Linked DNA regions of Homo sapiens: all the other regions are linked to region 4. Evidence: promoter capture Hi-C in human tissues and cell types (Jung and others, 2019). All regions are on one chromosome and are shown on one strand. Each heading gives the region's core, a stretch centred on a gene start or on the middle of the fragment in contact. The rest is flanking DNA. Distances are from core to core; before and after follow the strand shown. Region 1 has its middle 28 kb from the start of PLXNB1. Region 2 holds the start of FBXW12 (F-box and WD repeat domain containing 12). Region 3 overlaps USP19 (ubiquitin specific peptidase 19). Region 4 holds the start of CELSR3 (cadherin EGF LAG seven-pass G-type receptor 3). Region 5 overlaps ARIH2 (ariadne RBR E3 ubiquitin protein ligase 2).

Region 1 (2,700 bases), core at 6-2,505, 260 kb after region 4:
ATTCCAGGAGGACTCCTATCCCCTGCCTTTTTTTGGCCCTAAATAAAGCCATCCACTGTAGGGTTGCCCCTACAATCCACAAAGTCCTTGTCCCTAAGGAGCCATGTTGGTCTTGTCTGTGCCGGGGGTAGTCATAGCTGCTATTCTTCGCTGTGGCTCCATTGTCCCTTCTTTCCCATTTCTGCCGGATGTGGGGACCACAGTCAGGTCAGCAGCCAGGTGCCATCATTTGGGAGCATGTGAGCTTGGATGCTCTGGCCAGGTTTTCATAGCCACCCAGAATGGTCCTGACTTTTCCCGTTGGAGACCATGGAATGGGTCTCCATCTTGACCATCTCTGGGAGCAGGGTGGATGGGAAATCCACTTGAGGGTGGACTTCAAGCAGACACAGAGGGAAGCAGCCTTGGTCAGCACCACAGACCTCGACAGAGCCATGCCTCTGTTCCAGAGGCCTCTCTGTTCCAGGTTCAGGCCCCTGCAGGTTTTAGGGGTAGGTGAAGGCTCCCGGGAGAGGGGGGCCATGTGCCTGCAAGCCTGGGCACGTGCCCGCGGGAGGGGTGAGTACTGAACGTGCTTTGAGTCACTCACTGAGTCATGGCTCAGCCGCCACAGAACATTGTTATAATAACAGACATAGAGAAGAAAAACCTGGCACAAGAAGATAGGAAATTCTGTCTTCACTCCAAACCATGACCAAGAATGGAGATTCCAACACCAGCAAGAATTTGTGATCGCTTAACTTGGGTCATGACCACAATTTCAGCATAGAACATTTGTAATTCAGTTTGATCAATCTTTTCCTAATTTTTATTAAGACTGCAACGAAAGTGTGCCCTCATTATTACATTTTTCACAAACCTGTTAGCATACAAAGGGCCTTTGTTTCTCATTACCACCCGGGGCTCCTTAAGGCGTTTTATGGAGTGATGTGCTTTATTAAAAAGCGTTTTCACCAACTTAAAAGTTGGAATAATTGTCCAAATGGTTACATGACCCAGGAGTTCTATATTTTTATTAATTTTCTGATACTGAAATAATCGTGCTAATTAAGATAACAGCTGAATTTATGCTGATGAATGTTGGAATTCTTAGAAGCCACCTGAAACCTTCCAAATGGTCAGGACCTGGATCCCACTGGCCAGTGCCAACAGGTGACTCTGGGTGGTGCTGGGGGATACAGGGAACCTAGCTGTGTTCTGCTTGGCACCAATGGCTGCTGATGCATGTGTTTCCTCCACCAGGTTCCCTAAGGATGCCACATTGAAGAACAAATACACCCCAAACTACCTAGGTCAGCTGACTGGCGATGTTTTATGGATCTCTCTTTAAAAGTGTTCTGTCGGCCAGGCGCAGTGGCTCACCCCTGTAATCCCAACACTTTGGGAGGCCGAGGCAGGCGGATCATCTGAGGTCAGGAGTTTGAGACCAGCCTGCCCAACATGGCAAAACCCCGTCTCTTCTAAAAATACAAAAAATTAGCCAGGTGTGGTGGCGGGCGCCTCTCATCCCAGCTACTCAGGAGGCTGAGACAGGAGAATCGCTTGAACCCGGGAGGCGGAGGTTGCACTGAGTCGAGATCGCGCCACTGCACTCCAGCCTGGGTGACGAGCAAAACTCCATCTCAAAAAAAAAAAAAAAAAAGTGTTCTCTGTCTTAATTAAGGATGATGGTTTATCCAATTCCAAATGTTTACCAAAAATCTAAGATAAGGATATCACCATGATGTTTGAAAGAGAATTTATGCCCTGGTTGTGATGTTGGGGTTTTATTGATAAGAGTTTCAGTTATCTGGATGATATGTGCACGTGTAAGGAAACAGAATGGTTTGCCAGTTGTCCAGGTGGCCATGAAGAGAACCTCTGGAGGTCTAGGAATGTGAAGCTCAGATTTTGGAAACCTGGTCCGGTGTCCTGGGCCACAGGTAAGTGGCTGAAGCTGGTGGTTTGCTGCCATCTTCTGGCCATAGTGTGGAATTTATCAGAAGCAGCTACCAATGAGGGTGTCTGGAGCTCTATAAATTGCAAGCCTGGGCAAGATAGCCAGACCCCATCTTTACGAAAACTGTTTAAAAATTAGCTGGGCATGGTAGCACACATCTGTAGTCTCAGCTATTTAAGAGGTTGAGGTGGGAGGATTGCTGGACTCCAGGAGTTTGAGGCTGCAGTGAAAGATTATGCCACTCCACTCCAGACTGGGTGACAGTGAGACCCTGTCTCTTCAAAAAAAGAGAGAGAGAAATCACAACAGTGGAATTCAGTAGTGCTGGAGCTTAGTGAGTAATCTTACCCTGTCTTTAACGTGAATTCTGGTTTTAGGGTGAGCTATGTCTTAGGACATAGTTGAGATAACAGTGAGTGACTAGTCAAGAAAACAGCCGGGCACAGTGGCTCACACCTGTAATCCCAGCACTTTGGGAGGCCAAGGTGGGTGGATCACTTGAGGTCAGGAGTTCGAGACCACCCTGATCAACATGGTGAAACCCCATCTCTACTGAAAATACAGAAATTAGCCGGGTGTGATTGTGTGCACCTGTGATCCCAGCTACTGGGGAGGCTGAGGAAGGAAAATCACTTGAACCTGGGAGGCAGAGGTTTCAGTGAGCTGAGATTATGCCACCACACTCCAGCCTGAGCTGAGATTATGCCACCACACTCCAGCCTGAGCTGAGATTATGCCACCACACTCCAGCCTGAGCAGCA
Region 2 (2,700 bases), core at 1-2,500, 290 kb after region 4:
TACTCACACTAACTTTCCTGTGTATATCTCACAACACAGCCACACAGGCCTTGGGACACAGCATGGGTGCGCAGTCAGATGATCTCCTCTCCCCTTCCCTCCTTGCCCTTTCCCTTCCCTTACCTCCACAGGTAATCACTGTCTGCAATCCTATTCCAATGCTATGGGAGAGAAAGGAAGAGACAAGCAGGCAATCAGTTACATCAGAGAGCAAGGGTAATCCTCTGCTATTATTTGTTCTGGGAGCTGGGCCCGCACAGGTTAATCAGATGGGATTCCAGCTCTCAAAGCACTCTCAGTGTGGGGAGATAAGGAAATGGTAACAACAGAGACCTATCACTGCTAATACAGGCACTGGGTATTCCCATGAATTCACAGGAAGAAGTGTTGATTTCCTAGGGCTTGAAATGGGAGCCTCAAGGACTGTTTAGTCAGCACAACTCCTGGATATCAGCTTGTCCTTTTCGTTTAACAGAATATGAGGCCCTCAGTATGAAGAATGCTAACCCCCAAAGCCTCAGTGTAACCCTCTGCTATTCTGCAAAGTGGTGCTCAAACTGGTCGAGAGAAGCAGCGGGCTTGGGGGGCAGTGGGAGGTGGAAGGCCTTTACCTTGTTCACCTGGGAAACCTGCAGCAAGCCGAACAGGTCCAGGAAAGAGAAGATTCGCTTCAAAGCTAAGTCAGGCAATCGGATCTCCATTTCATGCGGCCTGAACCCACATCCACTTTCCTTTCTCCTCTCCGGGCTGCTCTGAATTTATAGGCTTTGCCAAAGTCTGCAGCACTTGTAAAGATTTTCACCCATGCCCATCTGTGTGCGGTAGAAACAAGCTGCAGGTGTGCAGACTCCCGGGCTGACCTCCACCCCGGCCTCTCCCCTGGGGCCTGATCCACACAGCTGGCAGGCATCCCTACCTAAACCCACTTGTTAGTGCTGTTCATTGTTTAGAGGAGCTCAGCAACACCTGTGCGCTGTGAGCTGGAGGTGCAGAACCTGGGGCAGCCCCAGTTGCAGATGAAGTTGTCAGAACCCTTTAGGAAATGTCACCGAGTGCACTCACTTTGATCAGATCTGAGTGTCTCTATGACTCTATTTAAGTTCCAAACTCCTGGAATTGGAGTCTGCTTGCCCTGTGTCTGTGCCTACCTTGGGATCTTGAATCTGGTGAGTGGGGCTCATCTCTCAGCGCCAGCATGGCCTCTGGGTTTCTACCTTCTCGCATTTAACTTTGCAGTGGAGGAGAAAGAACGTGCCAAGCTGGCTTCTCCACAGAGGTCCGCCCAAAGGGAGCAGGCCTTGTCTGGGATGGCTCTCCCAGCTGGTGGCTTTCCCTGGGATGTGACGCTTTCCCACAGTTACAGATCTCCCAAGAACCTGACAACTCATTCTGGGATTTTCTAAAGACCGTGTCATAGCCTGGGTGTTTGTGTCCTCTCAAAATTCCTACGTTGAAATTCTAACCCTTGGTGTGATTGGAGGTGGGGGGCCTTTGGGAGGTAAGTGGGTCACAGGCAGAGTCCTTATGATGGGACCAGTGACCTTATAAAAGAGACCCCAGAACGCTCTCTAGCCCTGTTCATATCATGCGAGGACATGAGAAGGTGTCAGCTGCAACCTGGAAGAAGGCCCACACCAGAACCTGACCGTGCTGACAGGTGACTCTTGGACTTCTCTCCTCCAAAATTGTGAGAAATAAATTTGTTTGTAAGCCACCCAGTCTATGGTACTTTGCTGCAGCATAAGACAGGGGTCCCTCTGTGAGGCTCAGTGGCCAACCCTTCTTAAAACTGCTGCCTCCAGGCAGACACACGGGAGTGGTTGTCGGGAGTCCCATTTATGATACAGTAGTAAGAGAGAGGAAAAATACAAATTGACATGGTGAGGAAATAAAAAGGAAAAGCAAAGACCAAGAAGCACCTAGAGGGGCGTGGGGAAAGGCGAGTCAAGGGGTGTGTGGAGAGGAGTGAGAAAAATACAAGGGTAAAAGATTTGTATTCCATAAATAGGAAATAATGCAGAGAGAGCCAGAGCCGTGGAAGGACACAGGAAGACAGAAAGCTTGGAACGGACTCTATTGTAGAGGAACAGAATTAATGCAAAGATATAGAAGGCTGAGAAATAAAACACTTTAAAATATGACAAGGGAAGAGAAGAAACAGTAAAATAAAGGATATTTTAAAAGTATTAAAGCACAAATATTATAAAATACACAGATAGGAAATATAACTGTAAGTGGACTGAGACAGAGTAGGAATAAAATGGAAAAGAGGACAGATGAGAAAGAGGCAAACATAAGGAAACTGAAGCAAATTGCCGAATGAGTGAATGAATGAATTTGAAATAGAGGAACAGAGGCCAGGCACAGTGGCTCATGCCCGTAATCCCAGCACTTGGGGAGGCCGAGGCGGGTGGATCACCAGGTCAGGAGTTTGAGACCAGCTTGGCCAACATAGTGAAACCCTGTCTCTACTAAAAATACAACAAATTAGCTGGGCGTGGTGGCGGGTGCCTGTAATCCCAGCTACTTGGGAGGCTGAGGCAGGAGAATTGCTTGAAGCTGGGAGGTGGAGGTTGCAGTGAGCTGAGATTGCGCTACTGCACTCCAGCCTGGGCGACAGTGCGAGACTCCATCTCAACAACAACAACAAAAAAAATAGAGGAACAGGAAGGTGTGTTGGGGGGTGGTGGTGGCGGGGTG
Region 3 (2,700 bases), core at 176-2,675, 450 kb before region 4:
GGGACCAGCCTGGGCAACTTGGTGAAACACTGTCTCTACAAGAAATAAAATTAGCTGGGCATGGTGGTACGTGTTATAGTCCCAGCTACTTGGGAGGCTGAGGCAAGAGGCTCACTTGAGCCCGGGATGTGGAGGTTGCAGTGAGCAGAGATTGCACCACAGCACTCCAGCCTGGGTGACAGAGTGAGACTCTGTCTCAAAAATAAATAAATAAATAGATAAAAAAATAAAAATAGGGCCAGGCGTGGTGGCTCATGCCTGTAATCCCAGCTCTTTGGGAGGCCAAGGCTGATGGATCACAAGGTCAGGAGATCCAGACCACCCTGGCTTACATGGTGAAACCCCACCTCTACTAAAAATACAGGAAAAGTTAGCCGGGCGTGGTGGCACATGTCTGTAGTCCCAGCTGCTCAGGAGGCTGAGGCAGGAGAATCGCTTGAACCTGGGAGGCAGAGGTTGCAGTGAGCCGAGATCGCGCCACTGCACTCCAGCCTGGGTGACAGAGTGAGACTCTGTCTCAAAAATAAAATAAAATAAAATAAAAATAGACATACACATGAGTATGCCTGTGACTGTACAAAAACAGGCGATGTGCTGTTATTTTTTCTGTGCAACAGAAGTGCCCTCAGTTCCTAGCCATTATCAGGGTTTATTCCCCTTTGTGGTGGTGGATCCCAACTGCATTTCCCTTTTTAGACAAGGAGCTTGAGCTGCAGGACTATCCCTATGTTCGCTCTGCCTCTCCCTCTATCCTGCTGCTCTCTCCTTTTATCCCAGTTGTGTGTGCTAGCTCTCCCCAGGGGTTCCTAGCCTTTAGCCTGACAGTGTTGGTTTTCTTAGGGGTAAGAGTGGGGAGGAGGCTCTTTGAATGTGGACCCTCCATGATAATATGTTACAGTCTTATAAGGCTATGCTAGTTATAGCAGGGCAGAGTCCCTCAGTGTGGAGAGCTGGTGTGGTTGATATCTGCCTCACACCTGGTCTTTCAGGCCCTCTGATGCACCAGGCTCCTTATGGCATTGGGCACTGAGACAGGTGCCAGCAGAGGCATAAGCCTATTTGGGCCTACAGACCTCACCACTGCCCACATAGACCCAAGGCAGGGCCAAGCCTTCTTAAACTCTGGGGCAGGGCTAGGGAAAGGGCTTATCCTCACGTGGGATCTGTGTGTTCTCTGTCCCCAGGTAATTAAGAATCGTTTTCATCGTGTGTTCCTACCCTCCCACTCACTGGACACTGTGTCCCCATCTGATACGCTCCTCTGCTTTGAGCTGCTATCCTCAGAGTTGGCTAAGGAGCGGGTAGTGGTGCTAGAGGTGCAACAGGTGAGTGGGGGCCAACCTGATGGCACAGCGCCCTGGTGGGTGGGGCACTTCTTCCTGGTCTTGCTGAGCCAGACGACCCACCCTAGCGCCCCCAGGTGCCCAGCGTCCCCATCTCCAAGTGTGCAGCCTGCCAGCGGAAGCAACAGTCGGAGGATGAAAAGCTGAAGCGCTGTACCCGGTGCTACCGTGTGGGCTACTGCAACCAGTGAGGACCCCCATGGTCTCCCCTACCCTTTCTTTCCACCTTCCATGTGCCACCCTGCTCCTTCCCTTCACACCAAGGCACATATGCTTAAGCTTTCTACTTGCCACCCTACTTTACCAGGCTCTGGGGGAGGCAGGGCTGGCGTACCCAGTTCCCAGGGACTATGACTAGCCCCCAGTATGGAGTCATAGGAGATGGGGCTAAGGGCCTATCCTTGTCTTCCTCTTCCCGTCAGGCTCTGCCAGAAAACCCACTGGCCTGACCACAAGGGCCTCTGCCGACCTGAGAACATTGGCTACCCCTTCCTGGTCAGTGTACCTGCCTCACGCCTCACTTATGCCCGCCTCGCTCAGTTGCTAGAGGGCTATGCCCGGTAAGTGCCCAGTGGTTGGACTAGAGTGGTGTAGGTGGGGGCAGAGGTGCTAGATGGGCTGGTCAGGAGTCTTACTTGCGTTGTTCTCTGTTGCCAGGTACTCTGTGAGTGTATTCCAGCCACCCTTTCAGCCAGGCCGCATGGCCTTGGAGTCTCAGAGCCCTGGCTGCACCACACTGCTCTCCACAGGTTCCCTGGAGGCTGGGGACAGCGAGAGAGACCCCATTCAGCCACCTGAGCTCCAGCTGGTGACCCCTATGGCTGAGGGGGACACAGGGCTTCCCCGGGTGTGGGCAGCCCCTGACCGGGGTCCTGTGCCCAGCACCAGTGGAATTTCTTCTGAGATGCTGGCCAGTGGGCCCATTGAGGTTGGCTCCTTGCCAGCTGGCGAGAGGGTGTCCCGACCCGAAGGTAAGATCCAGTGAAAGGCTCTAGAAGCTGGGGAGGAGGATAAGGGAGGATGGAGGGGGCTGTTGTTTAGGGCCTGGTGGGCCTGGTGAGGCCCTGATGGGCAGGGAAGCTTTGATTATCATGTTCTCACACAGCTGCTGTGCCTGGGTACCAGCATCCAAGTGAAGCTATGAATGCCCACACACCCCAGTTCTTCATCTATAAAATTGATTCATCCAACCGAGAGCAGCGGCTAGAGGACAAAGGTGTCTGAGGCTGTGGGTGGGAGCCATGGGGTGGGTTGAGCTGGCTGTTCTCCACAGCTGCATGACCTCTCTCCCTGCGAATCTCCAGGAGACACCCCACTGGAGCTGGGTGACGACTGTAGCCTGGCTCTCGTCTGGCGG
Region 4 (2,700 bases), core at 109-2,608:
CACAAGGGGCGCTCGGGAGGTGGAACCCGCAGAAGCCCCGCCTCCCGGAAGCGGAGCAGTCAAGGGGCGAAAGGATGCGCCGACTGATTGGTTGATGGTGATGTCATAGGGACCGTTCGGGGCGGGCCAGAGGCCTTGGCCAGGAGTTCCTCGCCTGTTAGAACCAGGATCCACCCCATCGCGGGAGCCGCACCCTGTGGAGCGTTCTGGGGTCCCGGCCCTGACCTCTTCCTGGGCTTCGGGATGCCCGCGTCCTCTGCACCCGGCGCTGCAGCTCGTTATCGATTCCGCCTTTGGAGGCCGGTCCGTATAGTGTACCTCCCGGACTCTCTCACGGTTAGCCGGCAACCCGCGGAGCCCCCTCCCCCATGCGATGAGTCCGCCGTGAGGGGCGGGGCCTCCCATTGTGCCAATAGAAACAATGACTGACCGATTGGAGTGCTCCGCGTTCACCCCTCGCCTCCGCTCCTCTCGTGACGTCTGTTGCGCCAGGTCCACCCATTGGCCTGGCGAGACCGGCGCGTGCCAGGAGTTACGCAGGGAGAGCTGGAATGCACCGAGGGTGGGGGGAGGACTGAGTTTCTGTGTCAGTCCCTTCAAGGGGTTAAGGCATGCGGTCGTGACGGACGAGGGGCGGGGACCCGAAGAAGCGGGGCCCGCAGCCATGGGGCAACGCCGGGCTCCACGTGGCATCCCAGAGCACTCGGGACTCGCAGCCTGGGAGGGGGTGCAGCCTCCAGTGAAGGGGCCCCGAGCCCGGGAGACTGCTGGGGACCAGCAAGGCAGGGAAGAATTTGGCCTCTGCTCCCGCCTCGGGAGGGTCATCTCTGGTCCCTGCTCCGCAGGGGCGATCCAAACAAGCAGGTGGTCGCGACATGTTTCATAAAACTAGCTGATGGGATAGTTAAAGCTATTGTTCGGGGTGCTGGCACCCCAGACCCCTCTCCAGCCATCGTCCCCTCTACCCCAGGATTTCACACAGTACCCCCTCCCAGAGCTATGAGAACGCTCATGGGCACCAAAATTTCAGACCAAAATCCGGGACACGGTTCAGAACTAGTGGTCAGGAAGGGGGAACAAGAGATCTGGAAGGACAGAAAAAGGCTGGGAGACGGAGCTGGGACAGCGCCCTAGAAGGAGGGAGGTGGGTGAAGGCGGCGACCGAAAGTGGGGAGGGCGGACCCAACGACGGCGAACCTTCGCGCTCTGTTCAGCACCAGGAGCAACGCTCACGTCCTCAATAAAGATGGCGGCAACATCTTCGGTCCTCAGAGCTGCCATGCGCGATGGGTTGTACCACCGTGTTTCGGGCGCCGGGGCAGAGGTGGAGCGAACCATCGGGGCGGCCGGGAGCCATGTTGGAGCGGCGGGAGGCGGCAGCAGCGTCGGGGATGCTGTGGTGGGGGCGGAAAAAGCCAGGGCCGCACGCCGGAGGGGCTCCGGCCGCGGAGTAGATGGTGCCCAGAGGGCGGCGGGGGTGCGGAGAGACAGGCGGAGGGGCGGGGGCCCGGGGCGGCGGCAGGGGCCCGGGAGGGGGCCCGAGCGGCGGGGCCAGCCCAAGGCCCGGACCGGGGCGGGGGGCGGTGGAGGCCGTGCAGGGAGGCGGGGGATGATGGCGAGGCGGCCGCCGTGGCGGGGCCTCGGGGGACGGTCGACCCCCATACTCCTGCTCCTTCTCCTCTCTTTGTTCCCCCTCAGCCAGGAGGAGCTGGGGGGCGGTGGGCACCAGGGCTGGGACCCAGGCTTAGCTGCCACTACGGGGCCAAGGGCGCATATCGGTGGCGGAGCCTTAGCTCTTTGTCCGGAGTCTTCCGGGGTCCGGGAGGATGGGGGGCCTGGCCTGGGGGTCAGGGAGCCTATCTTCGTGGGGCTCCGAGGGAGAAGGCAAAGCGCCCGGAATAGTCGAGGGCCCCCTGAGCAGCCGAATGAGGAGCTGGGGATTGAACACGGCGTCCAGCCATTGGGCAGCCGCGAACGAGAGACAGGACAGGGACCAGGGTCTGTGTTATACTGGCGCCCAGAGGTCTCCTCTTGCGGGCGGACAGGACCTTTGCAAAGAGGTAGTCTGTCACCAGGGGCTCTGTCCTCAGGGGTCCCGGGCTCGGGGAACAGCTCGCCCCTCCCTTCAGACTTTTTGATTCGGCACCACGGTCCCAAGCCGGTGTCCTCCCAGCGGAACGCTGGGACAGGCTCCCGCAAAAGAGTGGGCACCGCGCGCTGCTGTGGGGAATTATGGGCAACAGGGAGCAAGGGTCAGGGCGAGAGAGCCACGACATCCGGAGCAGAAAGGACAGCCCCCCGGCGGAACTGTCTTCCAGGGGCCTCGGGATCTGGCCCCGAGCTGGATTCAGCACCACGCACGGCGAGGACAGCTCCTGCATCAGGTTCAGCACCCCGCGAGTCTCGGACAGCTCCCGAGCCGGCGCCCAAGCGCATGCGCTCCCGGGGTCTCTTCCGCTGCCGCTTCCTCCCGCAGCGCCCCGGGCCGCGTCCCCCGGGACTCCCGGCCCGTCCTGAAGCCAGGAAAGTAACCTCGGCGAACCGGGCACGCTTTCGTCGCGCCGCAAACCGCCACCCGCAGTTTCCGCAGTACAACTACCAGACGCTGGTGCCGGAGAATGAGGCAGCAGGCACCGCGGTGCTACGCGTGGTTGCTCAGGACCCGGACGCCGGCGAGGCCGGGCGCCTAGTCTACTCGCT
Region 5 (2,700 bases), core at 17-2,516, 300 kb before region 4:
GCTACTTGGGAGCCTGAGGCAAGAGAATCGTTCGAACCCGGGAGGCAGAGGTTGCAGTGAGCTGAGATTGTGCCATTGCACTCCAGCCTGCAAGACAGAGCGAGATTCTGTCTCAAAAAAAAAAAAAAATTCTATATATATGGCTGGGCGCAGTGGCTCACACCTGTAGTCTCAGCACTTTGGGAGGCCGAGGTGGGTAAATCACTTGAGGTCAGGAGTTTGAGACCAACCTGGCCAATATGGTGAAACCCTATCCGGGAGTGTTGGCTCATGCCTGTAATCCCAGCTACTTGGGAGACTGAAGCAGGAGGATCGCTTGAACCTGGGAGGTGGAGGTTGCAGTGAGCAGAGACTGCACTACTGCACTCCAGCCTGGGAGACAGAGCAAGACTCTGTCTTTAAAAAAAATAAAAATAAAAATAAAAATAAAAAAAATAACTGGCAAAGGATCAGTATTCAGAGTAAACAAAACTCCTAAAAATCCATTTGGTTCTAGGAACTGGACATGGGAGAAGGGGGAAGGATCCATTTGGAATAACAAAATAACTCAATAAAAAATGGGGAGAAGACTTAACAGGCATTTCAAAGGAGGAGGCAGCACAAATGGCCATTAAACATATGAAAAGATTCTCAACCTCCTTAATAATACAGGACCATTGAAACAATTAGATGCCATTTACATCCACCAAACTGCAAAACTTTAAGTCTTACAATATCAGGAACACCTATATACCACTGCTGAGCGTGTAAAGTGGTAAATCACTCTGGAAAACAACCTGGAATTATTTAGCAAAGACAAAACTACACGTATGCTATAGCCAATAATTCCTTTTCTATATTTAACTCCAGAAAAATTACGTGACAGTAAGAGTTACCTACAATAATTTTCCATTTATAACAGAATTATCAAGTGGCAATAAAAGTGCCACACAAAGCCCAGGTCAACATATTTCCAAGATACCAGGAATTGGAGCAGAAAAGAATTATGTCTCATCTATGTGATTTCTACCTAGTCAGAATGCTTCCCTCAGCTATCCTTATTGAGGGGCCCGTTTTATTCCTAATTCCCACAGTAATATTTTAAGTATCTTTTGCCATCCAAATCTCCACTCCTGAGTTATGCTGAAAGAGTGTGGGCAGTGAGAGATATCCTATTGCCAGAACCTATGTGGTTCCAGAGTTTTGGGCAGTAGTATAATAATAAGGCAGCAGCAGTTCATCTGCAATTCCATCTAAATATATTCCGTTCTTGAGTACACAGGATGAGTGCAGTTAGTGAATCAGGAACGAATTTGCTCTTTCCTGACTGTGCTGAGCTGCTCCAGCTGGTATGTCCTTCCCAGTTGTGTTCAGCCCGGAGAAGGAAAGGCACGATCTTCCTCTGTAGATAAATTCTACTAAAAATACAAGAATTAACCAGGCATGGTGGCAAGTGCTGGTAATCCCAGCTACTTCATAGGCTGAGGCAGGAGAGTTGCTTGAACCCTGGAGATGGAGGTTGCAGTGAGCCAAGGTTGTGCCACTGCACTCCAGCCTGGGTGACAGAGTGAGACTTTGTCTCAAAAAAATAAAAATAAAAAAAAACATACCATACGAGAAAGGAAGATTCACTGCAGTGTGAAAGAGTAGGAATGGTAACAAGTGCTTCTCACCAGAGGGAATTTTGCTCCCCACGAGTTATTTGACAATGTTTGGAGACATTTTGATTGCCAAGGACTTAGAGGTGTGGCTTCTAATAGAGCCCAGGGATGCTGCCAGACATCCTACAATTCACAGATCAGGCCCCCCACAACAAAGAGTTATCTAGTCTAAAATGTCAATAATGCTGAGGATGAGAAACACTGTGCTAGACAGGGGCACACGCCTCCGAGGGTGAGCATAGGAGATCTCTACAGAGGATGCAGAGGAGGAGGTGCCCCTTTTCCTGACAACTTGTAAGACATCTTGAGACTCTAAGGTCTGTATCTTAAGATCTCTAGTTCTGGAGGAGGTGGAAAGAAATACTCAAATACACTGCTGGTAGAGGTGGTGGGTGGTAAAGTAGCCTATATTTTCTTTCTGTTTTTTTTTTTGAGATGGAGTCTCACTCTGCCACCAGGCTGGAGTGCAGTGGCACAATCTCGGCTCACTGCAACCTCTGCCTCCAGGGTTTAAGCGATTCTCTTGCCTCAGCCTTCTGAGTAGCTGGGACTACAGGAGTGCACCACCACGCCAGGTTGATTTTCATATTTTTAGTAGAGAAGGGGTTTCATCATGCTGGCCAGGCTGATTTCAAACTCCTGACCTCAGGTGATCCGCCCGCCTCAGCCTCCCAAAGTGCTGAGATTACAGGCATGAGCCACCACGTACAGCCAGCAGCCTACATTTTCTAAAGGAAATACAACTCGTACTATGATACAATCCTCAAGTTGACGTATCCAAAAGAAGTAAAAGATGTTGGCGCGTGTTACCTAGAAAGGCACTGATTAAAAATTAACAATGGGAAAGAAAATCTGAATTCACTGTCCAACAACAGAGGTTTGGAAAAAGTATGGAATATCTATGATAGAATACTGTGCTAGTATTAAAACTGGGGTAGAAGAATATACTGAAGACATGGGGAAAGTTCACAACATATTAAGAGAAGAGGATGTAAAATAGAATCCAATGTTTTAAAAATATACTATGCACATTGGAATATAGTCGAATATGGTCCAAAAT

Evidence for each region. Contacts are between HindIII fragments. The study calls those that stand out against the background at their distance.
Region 1: a contact is called between a fragment that was not itself captured here and the fragment with the promoter of CELSR3 in region 4, in 1 of the 25 tissues and cell types used here (IMR-90 fibroblasts).
Region 2: the fragment with the promoter of FBXW12 here is called in contact with the fragment with the promoter of CELSR3 in region 4 in 2 of the 25 tissues and cell types used here (lymphoblastoid cells and spleen).
Region 3: a fragment that was not itself captured here is called in contact with the fragment with the promoter of CELSR3 in region 4 in 1 of the 25 tissues and cell types used here (dorsolateral prefrontal cortex).
Region 5: a contact is called between a fragment that was not itself captured here and the fragment with the promoter of CELSR3 in region 4, in 1 of the 25 tissues and cell types used here (adrenal gland).

What each region holds. Positions count from the first base shown.
Region 1 is chr3:48,400,312-48,403,011 of GRCh38, reverse strand. No RefSeq gene overlaps it. Among named protein-coding and RNA genes, the nearest start is that of PLXNB1, 28 kb to the left of the region's middle. The HindIII fragment of the contact is 5,455 bases long and covers 1-2,700 here.
Region 2 is chr3:48,370,769-48,373,468 of GRCh38, reverse strand. FBXW12 (F-box and WD repeat domain containing 12) reads right to left here and starts at 1,250. Exons shown (of 11, transcript NM_207102.2): 1 at 1,149-1,250; 2 at 612-785; 3 at 124-161. The coding sequence starts at 701. The HindIII fragment of the contact is 16,322 bases long and covers 1-2,700 here.
Region 3 is chr3:49,111,114-49,113,813 of GRCh38, reverse strand. USP19 (ubiquitin specific peptidase 19) reads left to right here. Exons shown (of 27, transcript NM_001199161.2): 18 at 1,185-1,325; 19 at 1,412-1,530; 20 at 1,766-1,903; 21 at 2,001-2,314; 22 at 2,449-2,559; 23 at 2,648-2,700. Among named protein-coding and RNA genes, the nearest start is that of QARS1, 7.7 kb to the right of the region's middle. The HindIII fragment of the contact is 5,151 bases long and covers 1-2,700 here.
Region 4 is chr3:48,661,544-48,664,243 of GRCh38, reverse strand. CELSR3 (cadherin EGF LAG seven-pass G-type receptor 3) reads left to right here and starts at 1,358. Exons shown (of 35, transcript NM_001407.3): 1 at 1,358-2,700. The coding sequence starts at 1,610. LINC02585 (long intergenic non-protein coding RNA 2585) reads right to left here and starts at 476. Exons shown (of 3, transcript NR_111921.1): 1 at 431-476. RefSeq lists enhancers at 33-392, 707-1,292, 1,163-1,352, 2,464-2,700. The HindIII fragment of the contact is 20,539 bases long and covers 1-2,700 here.
Region 5 is chr3:48,961,748-48,964,447 of GRCh38, reverse strand. The region is part of intron 4 of ARIH2 (ariadne RBR E3 ubiquitin protein ligase 2); the gene reads right to left. Among named protein-coding and RNA genes, the nearest start is that of P4HTM, 27 kb to the left of the region's middle. RefSeq lists an enhancer at 259-906. The HindIII fragment of the contact is 8,208 bases long and covers 1-2,700 here.